Linked DNA regions of Homo sapiens: region 2 is linked to region 1. The links are contacts of gene promoters, found by promoter capture Hi-C in human tissues and cell types (Jung and others, 2019). All regions are on one chromosome and are shown on one strand. Each heading gives the region's core, a stretch centred on a gene start or on the middle of the fragment in contact. The rest is flanking DNA. Distances are from core to core; before and after follow the strand shown. Region 1 holds the start of PRLHR (prolactin releasing hormone receptor). Region 2 has its middle 12 kb from the start of CACUL1.

Region 1 (4,619 bases), core at 1,420-3,919:
AATCTTCATTCCCTCTTCAAAGGACAGCTGTTCACTTCCTTTCCACCTTGCAAATATTGATAATACTAAAATGCTTGCCCAACTTTATCTGGAATTTGGCAAATGATCCACTCTTTCCTCTGGAGGGTGCCCCAATATTGAAACTTCAAATATCCATGTTTACATGACCTTCAGTTATTGACAAAGTTGTCTTCGTATTATTACTTTTACTATTATATATGATAATTGACCAATATAATGATATTGACCAGAATGATGGCTCTAGTTAGGAGGCCTAACAACATCCCAAATCCTTTTTCACTGACTTTATCGCAATTTCCTCTGCTTAAGAGATTTTGAAACAAAAGAGTGCCCCTGCTCTTGGGTGCATAAAACCCTGCAGGTGAAAATGATGAGAAAAATTACTGGGCAAGGTATTAGGCAGGCACTGATTGTATCCTATTTAGAGCTCTGCAATTAAAAAAGTATATATAATACTGAGACTGGGTGCAGTAGCTCATGCTTGTAATCCCAGAACTTTGGGAGTCTGAAGCGGGAGGATTGCTTGAGCCTAGGAGTTCAGTCAGCCTGGGCAACATGGCAAAACCTCACCTCTACAAAAAATTAGGCCAGGCGCAGTGGCTTACGTGTGTAATTCCAGCACTTTGGGAGGCCGAGGTGGGCGGATCACGAGGTCAAGAGATCAAGACCATCCTGGCCAACATGGTGAAACCCCGTCTCTACTAAAAATACAAAATCATCTGGGCATGGTGGCACGTGCCTGTAGTCACAGCTACTCGGGAGGCTGAGGCAGGAGAATCGCTTGAACCTGGGAGGCAGAGGTTGCAGTGAGCTGAGATCACACCACTGCACTCCAGCCTGGCGACAGAGCAAGACTCCGCCTCAAAAGAAACAAATAAACAAAAATTAGTCAGGCATGGTGGTGTGCACCCGTAGTTCCAGCTACTTGAGAGGCTGAGAGGTGGGAGGATGGCTTTGGCCTGGGAGGTTGAGGCTGCAGTGAGCCATGATTGTGCCACTGCACTCCAGCCTGGGTGACAGAGTGAGATCTTGTCCTAACATATACATGTATATATACACACACACTGGTTTTAGCTAAATTGATTATAACTCAGGGACCGTGAGCTTAGGATGGACAGAGGTGCATAACATTGATTACTTTTGTTCCAATATTGACTTTTTTCTATATGAGTGATTCATTTAAATTTGGAGGGTGGAATAAATTGATATTAGTTTCCAGTCTAACTGGAATATCTGCAGCCAGAGGACAAAGTACAAGGACTTATCAGAGAGGAGACAATGAAGCTCCATGCTCTGGAAAAAGGAAACAAGAGGCTGAGGGAATGAGATAGCTTCTAAGGAGGGAGCTTACAAAGGCCCCTCCTCCCCTGGCTCTTGCCCCGTGGGCCAGGCTAATTTGCATTTCAATGAGGACTTAATACTACTGAAGATTTTATGAAACGCCTAAGCTTCTCAAATGTTTGTTACTTTTGTTACCCTAGCTGAAATCTGCAATTACCAGTATTTTTAAAAAATCCTAAAATGAAGAGAAGAGGCCTGTGGGTGTTCAGTCAAGGAGGGAGGGGTCAAGTCTCAGTCCAGGAACTACTCTGTGCTGGGAGAAGCAGCCAGATACGGCACAGGTCGCGGTAGCCGAGAAAGAAAGCGAGAGAAAGGGTGAGCCGGGGAGTCGCTGGGCCAGACTGAAGTGTGCCTGTGTAGAATAACTGGCAGGAGAGCTGCATTTTCTGACCCCGGGAGGTAAAAGACGACGCCGTCCTTGGCACTGAGTGCGGTGACCACCAAGAGGAGCAAAAGTCATGAGTCTCCGACCCCCAGGCCCCCGGCTCAGCTGCCTCCACTCCACCCTACTCTTCTCAGCCCCAGCCCAGAAAGCAGGCAGCGAGGCAGGTCTTTGAACCGGACCAGGTTCCTTCCCCAAACACCCGGATCCAGAGAGGGGCAGGAATTCCCTAGTCATTTTCCCCTGCTCCTCCCCACATCATCCGCCCGAGGGGCGGCAGATCCAGCGGAAGCTGTCCGTGGTGCTGACTCCTGCCTTTGGCTTGGCCGGACCCGCTGCCCGCTGAGCGCGCTGCAGCCAAGCAGGGGGCTCGTGTGGCGGGGCCACGGGAGGGTGAGGGTCCTCAGGTCCGCGACCAGCTCCAGGCTCTGCTGTTAAATCCCAGCCCGAGCCCTCTAGCGTCTCTGCCCTCCGCAACCTGGCCGCTAGGCAGGATCCAGCCTTTAAGAACGGGTCAGTCGTGCCTCTCTCAAGCCCCCAGCTGCATTGCAATCTCCCACCGCTACTTCCTTCCCCGCTCCTTCCCTCCTAAGACTGCACCGGCTCCTCCCGATAGCCTGACGCTTCGCGCCTCTCCTCCGCCCTCCTCCACTGTGCGCTCCTCCGGACCCTGACCCTCCAGGGGCCGTGCAAGCTCCTGCAGTAGAGATTCGTCCTCTTCGCTGCTCTGGCCAGGTTTGCCGGCCCCTCCTCCCGTTTCGGATTCCATCCTCCCCACACTGTCCTCTTCACTAGTTCTCTAAGCACCGAGCATGGCAGAGCGCGCTCCACCCCTATTTTCCATACATGGGAGCTGGAGTGGGGGGCGGAGCTGAGGGGAGGCGCTCCCAGTCCCTCTAAGAAGCTGCTAGCCCACTGGGAAACATTTGGATCCGTTCAGCTCCCGCGGAGAAGCGAGACCGGATCACCGACGTGGGCAGAGGACTACCGAGGGCCAGCAGAAATTCTGCCCCTTCTTCCCGCGAGTGCTTTCCCGCTCTCCAAACCCCACTCCCAGGTAGGATCGCGCTCCTGAGTCTGCCTGCGTGGACTGCGAGGACCGTAAATAGAGGCGGAAGCGTTTAAATAAACCGTATGTTCTAACCGTGCTTAGGTTTATTTTACAGAGGTGAGAGGACAACACTTTTTGCTACTTTTGCTGTTGTTCTGTGGCCGGTTATTCCCAAGGGAGGACTCAGGCGATGGGGGAGGGGCGCGGCTGGTGTAGGAGGTCGGATGGAGTATGGCAAGGGAAGTGACGGACTTTGATTACCTTTGAACAGGTGGCCATGGCCTCATCGACCACTCGGGGCCCCAGGGTTTCTGACTTATTTTCTGGGCTGCCGCCGGCGGTCACAACTCCCGCCAACCAGAGCGCAGAGGCCTCGGCGGGCAACGGGTCGGTGGCTGGCGCGGACGCTCCAGCCGTCACGCCCTTCCAGAGCCTGCAGCTGGTGCATCAGCTGAAGGGGCTGATCGTGCTGCTCTACAGCGTCGTGGTGGTCGTGGGGCTGGTGGGCAACTGCCTGCTGGTGCTGGTGATCGCGCGGGTGCGCCGGCTGCACAACGTGACGAACTTCCTCATCGGCAACCTGGCCTTGTCCGACGTGCTCATGTGCACCGCCTGCGTGCCGCTCACGCTGGCCTATGCCTTCGAGCCACGCGGCTGGGTGTTCGGCGGCGGCCTGTGCCACCTGGTCTTCTTCCTGCAGCCGGTCACCGTCTATGTGTCGGTGTTCACGCTCACCACCATCGCAGTGGACCGCTACGTCGTGCTGGTGCACCCGCTGAGGCGGCGCATCTCGCTGCGCCTCAGCGCCTACGCTGTGCTGGCCATCTGGGCGCTGTCCGCGGTGCTGGCGCTGCCCGCCGCCGTGCACACCTATCACGTGGAGCTCAAGCCGCACGACGTGCGCCTCTGCGAGGAGTTCTGGGGCTCCCAGGAGCGCCAGCGCCAGCTCTACGCCTGGGGGCTGCTGCTGGTCACCTACCTGCTCCCTCTGCTGGTCATCCTCCTGTCTTACGTCCGGGTGTCAGTGAAGCTCCGCAACCGCGTGGTGCCGGGCTGCGTGACCCAGAGCCAGGCCGACTGGGACCGCGCTCGGCGCCGGCGCACCTTCTGCTTGCTGGTGGTGATCGTGGTGGTGTTCGCCGTCTGCTGGCTGCCGCTGCACGTCTTCAACCTGCTGCGGGACCTCGACCCCCACGCCATCGACCCTTACGCCTTTGGGCTGGTGCAGCTGCTCTGCCACTGGCTCGCCATGAGTTCGGCCTGCTACAACCCCTTCATCTACGCCTGGCTGCACGACAGCTTCCGCGAGGAGCTGCGCAAACTGTTGGTCGCTTGGCCCCGCAAGATAGCCCCCCATGGCCAGAATATGACCGTCAGCGTGGTCATCTGATGCCACTTAGCCAGGCCTTGGTCAAGGAGCTCCACTTCAACTGGCCTCCTAGGGCACCACTCGAGGTCAATCTGGTGCTTATTCTCAGCACCAGAGCTAGCTAAGCCAACATAGGGCAACATTTCCAGCCCAGCCCTCTTGTCCGGCTGTCTGTCTTGTCCTTGTGTGTTTGTAAAATGTTAAGCGGGCTTTGGTGAGAGTCTTGCTCTTTGCTTGGGGGAGGCCAAAGAGAGGGAAGAGGATTTCTTATTTCTTCTTTATGCCCTTGAAGGACAAACAAAACTTTTTCTCCACGTTCAGAAAAGTATTTCAGAACCACGATTGCCTTCCTGGCGTCCCCTCCTCCTGCTCGTTGGTGAAATGAACAATATGAATGGGATTTAAAAGGAATGCATTGGGCTTGGTAAAGATTTTCAGTTTGCCTTTAGAAAAAG
Region 2 (5,219 bases), core at 1,610-4,109, 170 kb before region 1:
GAGCAGGTGACCAAGGGTGACTCAGGTGAAAGCAGGTGACCAGGCTGGGCACAGTGGCTCACGCCTGTAATCCCAACACTTTGGGAGGCCGAGGCAGGTGGATCACGAGGTCAGGAGATGGAGGCGATCCTGGCTAACATGGTGAAACCCCGTCTCTACTAAAAATACAAAAAATTAGCTGGGCGTGGTAGCGGGCGCCTGTAGTCCTAGCTACCTGGGAGGCTGAGGCAGGAGAATGGTGTGAACCCGGGAGGCGGAGTTTGCAGTGAGCGGAGATGGGGCCACTGCACTCCAGCCTGGGCGACAGAGTGAGACTCTGTCTCAAAAAAAAAAAAAAAAGCGGGTGACCAGGATGAGTCAGGACGGAGCAGGTGACCAGGGGAACAGATGTGAACTACTGATTAAAACTGGTGGAAAAGGTTGTTTACTGAAACTATGAGGAAGTTAAACTTTAAAATGAAGGACAAAGAACAGGGGAGCTGAACATACTGATACATTAGTTCCTTGGAGAGGATCTCAGAACTCATTGTACTTAACAATTTACAGGCTAAACCCTTTGAAGAGGAATTTATTATATCCTACACAGTTAACATGCAGTGAATGTTTGCCATTAATATCACTGTTAGTAGTAGCCTTAATATTACTGATATAGTCATGCACCACATAAAGGATGTTTTGGTCCGCGACGGACCATATGCGTGATGGGAGTCCCAAAAGATTATAATGGAGCTGAAAAATTCCTGTCATCTAGTGATGTCTTAATGATCCTGACCCTGTGTAGGCCCAGCTAATGTGTGTTTGTGTCTTAGTTTTTAACAAAAAAGTTTAAAAAGTAAAAAATTAATTTTAAAATAGAAAAAAGTTTTCTTATAGGATATAAGGAAAGAAAATATTTTTGTATAGCTGGACAACGTGTGTTTTAAGCTAAGTGTTATTACAAAAGAGTCAAAAAGTTAAAAAATTAAAAAGCTTAGAAAGTAGAAAAGTTAAAGTAAGCTAAGGTTAACTTATTGGAGAAAGAAATGTTTAAAAATAAATTTAGTGTTAAGTGTACTGTGTTTGTAAAGTCTACAGTAGTGCACAGCAGTGTCCTAGGCCTTCACAGTCACTCACCACTCACTCACTGACTCACCCAGAGCAACTTCCAGCCCTGTAAGCTCCATTCGTGGTAAGTGCCCTATGCAAGTATACCATTTTTATCTTTTATACCATATTTTTTGGCTGTACCTTTTCAATGTTTAGGTATGTTTAGATCCACAACATGTTCCAGTTGCCTACAGTACTCAGTACAGTCACGTGCTGTACAGGTTTGTTGCCTGGGAGCAACAGGCTATGCCATATAACCTAGGTGTGTAGTAGGCTGTGCTGTTGAGGTTTGTATACTCTATGATGTTCCCACAACAACAAAATTGCCTAACAACCCCTTTCTCAGAATGCATTACCATCATTAAGTAACACATGACTGTGTTATTAGGCATGGTGCTCTTTTCCACATGGAAAAGCTGTATAATGCTGTGGCCATCCTCACCCTCAGGCTCCTCAGCACTGGTTTTAAGGGGAGTTCTAGTCTAGAGGAAAGGCAGCCCAGGCCGGATGAAAAAGCCCCTGGTATGGGCCAGGCACCCAGTCGCTTTACAACAGCTATCAGATGCCTTCCCTGACTTAGAATTATACAACCACGTCAATGACCTTCCCATTTTCAAACCTTGAGGATGATGCTTAAACTCTCACCTCGGAGATACTGAATCTCTGATGACTGCACAGGAAGGCCTCTGTTTCCTTACAAAACATGCCTCTCAAAATGTTGGGACAACTGAACGGTTCTCATAAAGCTAAAAATATTATAAAATCCTCAATTACAATTGTCCTTTCCAACAGTCCTTGATAGTACTTTGTTGCCTTTTGAACTTAATTTTGTTCTTTACGTTGCAATTAAACACGTGAATGACTGGCTGAAGTCCCATGAATGATGGATAGAGATTAGAATGCCTGCTTGCCTCCTCCTAATGGTTTCTATCTGTGTCTAAATTGGATTAACTTTATAGCTTTTTTTCTTAATCACTGGTATCAGATCATCCAGTTTTCCATTTTCTACTCATTTTTATGAAGTAATGAGGCAAAACATGCAATTTTTATAAACATATAATATTGACCAGATACGTAAAGGATTGCTGCCAAAACTGACCTGTGGACTAGCAGCAGGCACCCCCGTGCCAAAGCTGATGTTTGGGTTTAGAGTATGAAAGGCAATTTGAGGTATGATGTATGAAAGAGCTGACTGTGTGTGAAACAAGTGAAGTGGAGACTCATTTGTATCTGCTGCCTCTTAAATATGACAAGATAGATACCAACTCCTCCTGGATGATTACTGTGGCCTTCAAAAGGCACCCTGGCCTCTACCCAGGGTTAATCCATTGAGAGTGTTGGTGCCAAGATCGAATAACCAGGTGTCTTGTTGCTCACAGCTGCCAACATCAGATCTGCCTATGGCACCTGGCAGTGATGGCTGACAGTGGAGATCCAGTCCTACATTTCAGTGCCAGGAAGGGCCTCCCTTGCAGGCCACAGCTAAACTGTGTTAGGCCCAGGTACCCTCTTCCTCTAAGACTCCATTGGGATTGGACACCCTGGACCACTCGATGTTGTTTCATCACCCAAAGTACAAGCAATGACTTTTAATACACCTCTGAGTTTTTTTTTTTTTTTTTTTTTTTCCTGAGATGAACTTTCCCTCTTGTTGCCCAGCCTGGAGTGCAATGGCGCAATCTCGGCTCATTGCAACCTCTGCCTCCCGGGTTCAAGCGATTCTCCTGCCTCAGCTTCCCGAGTAGCTGGGATTACAGGCGTGCGCCACCACACCCAGCTAATTTTTGTATGTTTGGTAGAGACAGGGTTTCACCATGTTGGTCAGGCTGGTCTTGAACTCCTGACCTCAGGTGATCCACCTGCCTCGGCCTCGCAAAGTGCTGGAATTACAGGCATGAGCCACTGCGCCCGGCAGCACATTCTTTGATGTATTTTTTGCTTGAAATATTCCCTGCAGGTTCTTGCCTTAACCTGAGCTATTCTCTGAGCACTGCGTCCCTTGTGACCTCTGAAGGGCACACTGTTTTCTCATGTCCCATATTCCTCTGATAGGGAGGTGGTGTTGGTGTCTTCCTTGTTCCCACACTGCTTCCATTTCAATCCTTCCCTTCCCTTTCCGCTGAGGCTCCCACCATTGAAGTTTTCCACCTCACCTGCTCATAGAAGCAATCTCCTGGTCATTATCAACCCCGCCCTCTCTCTCTCTCTTTTTTTTTTTTTCAGATAGAGTCTCACTCCGTCTCCTGGGCTAGAGTGCAGTGGTGCGATCTCAGCCCACTGCAACCTCTGCCTCCAGGATTCAAACAATTCTCCTGCCTCAGCCTCACGAGTAGCTGGGATTACAGGCGCGTGCCATCACACCCAGCTAGTTTTTGTATTTTTTGGTAGGCATGGGGTTTCGCCATGTTGGCCAGGCTGGTCTTGAACTCCTGATCTCAAGTAATCTGCTCACCTTGGCCTCCCAAAGTGCGGGATTACAGGCATGAGCCACCGCGCCCGGCCAACCTCCTCTTTTTTGTTCCTGGATGGCCTTAATCTCCATGCCAGCTCCTGTCATCATTCATTGTCTTGAGGGAAACATTAACATCCCCACGGATGGCCCTTCCAGTCCTCTGGCCTCTTACCTCCCTGGCCTCCTCACCAGGCCTAATTCTAACATTTGCAGCAAGAGTGCAAAATGACTCATTTGTATGTCTAAATATTTAAATGTTATACATACAGCTAACTGCTAAGTAACACACTTCCTATCCTCCTTCCTTGACAAACATACCTTCAGATGATAACAAAATAAAAAATGTATGTAAAGCTATGGTAAAATAACAAGGATGACTGAATGGAACTATTATTGTGTATGTCTGGGTGTTCTTTTGATGGACTGGCAACATGTGGATGAGTAATAAAAAAATACATAATTCATAAATTATATGTATTTTATGAAAGTTAATTTTCTTGCCTTCTTTTAAGTAAATTACCAATTATGTTGTTATAATCAAGACTTTTACATAATTTGTGTTCTATTGAGAGTAATGACAAATTAGGCAACCTTTCTGGGGACATTATGGTTCTTAGGGTGTTTTTCATTAATTTGAAAATGCAGAAACTATGTTCTGCTGAGGTCAGAGCAACTGGAATTATCAATTAAGTTCTTAAAGCCATACTTAGATGGGAAATGAACTATAAATTTAATATATCATGCTCAAACATTTTAATGGGGTTAGGCTGTATATAATCAATCACTGTCACAGAAAATAGTAAAAATATTTTAATTTCATTATATAAATTTCTTTTTTTTTTTTTTTTTTTTGAGACGAAGTCTCGCTCTGTTGCCCAGGCTGGAGTGCAGTGGCGCAATCTCGGCTCACTGCAAGCTCCGCCTCCCAGGTTCACGCCATTCTCCTGCCTCAGCCTCCTGAGTAGCTGGGACTACAGGTGCCTGCCACCACGCCTGGCTAATTTTTTGTATTTTTAGTAGAGATGGGGTTTCACCATGTTAGCCAGGATGGTCTCGATCTCCTGACCTTGTGATCCGCCTGCCTTGGCCTCCCAAAGTGCTGGGATTACAGACGTGAGCCACCGCGCCAGGCCTCGTTATACGAATTTCTACCAGTAATATGAGTTTCACTATCTCTAAGCAACATCAAGATCAATACAGTACTTTTAAGTATTTTCCTTTCAAATTCTTTAATGCTGGGATGTAATAAGAAAATTGACAACAGAAGCATGTTATTCAATTTATTAAAATCTTTTTCCAGATTGTATCCTGATCTAAAATGGCCAAAAATAATCTCCAAAGAAATTAAAGGAAATTTTTGGAAAATCATACATTAATTTTCTTCATGGTCATACAAACATGTTTGTTTCCTTTTAAATTTTCTTTAAAAATTAAAAAAATTAATCATTCAAAAAGTAAAATAGACAAACTTAACTCTAGTTTTCTCTAGTAAGTGACAGTTCACACCAAGTAACTGTGGATAGTGCAAATACGAAAGTAATTTCATTTTCCACTAAAGACCACCATTCACTCATATTTGAACATCATTTATTGTTTCACTGAACTCTTCCAGTACGTCTCATCTATCTTGTCTAAATTAAATTGCTTTAACGCAGCGAGTAGCTCCAGGACCCTGCATGAG

The links. The method cuts DNA at HindIII sites, captures the fragments that hold promoters and counts their contacts. A contact is called where the count stands out against the background at its distance.
Region 2: a contact is called between a fragment that was not itself captured here and the fragment with the promoter of PRLHR in region 1, in 3 of the 25 tissues and cell types used here (hippocampus, spleen and thymus).

Annotation. Positions count from the first base shown.
Region 1 is chr10:118,593,698-118,598,316 of GRCh38, reverse strand. PRLHR (prolactin releasing hormone receptor) reads left to right here and starts at 2,669. Exons shown (of 2, transcript NM_004248.3): 1 at 2,669-2,801; 2 at 3,067-4,619. The coding sequence starts at 3,073. The coding sequence ends at 4,185. RefSeq lists enhancers at 1,284-2,092, 2,093-2,901, 2,902-3,710. The HindIII fragment of the contact is 7,132 bases long and covers 91-4,619 here.
Region 2 is chr10:118,764,634-118,769,852 of GRCh38, reverse strand. No RefSeq gene overlaps it. Among named protein-coding and RNA genes, the nearest start is that of CACUL1, 12 kb to the right of the region's middle. The HindIII fragment of the contact is 5,691 bases long and covers 14-5,219 here.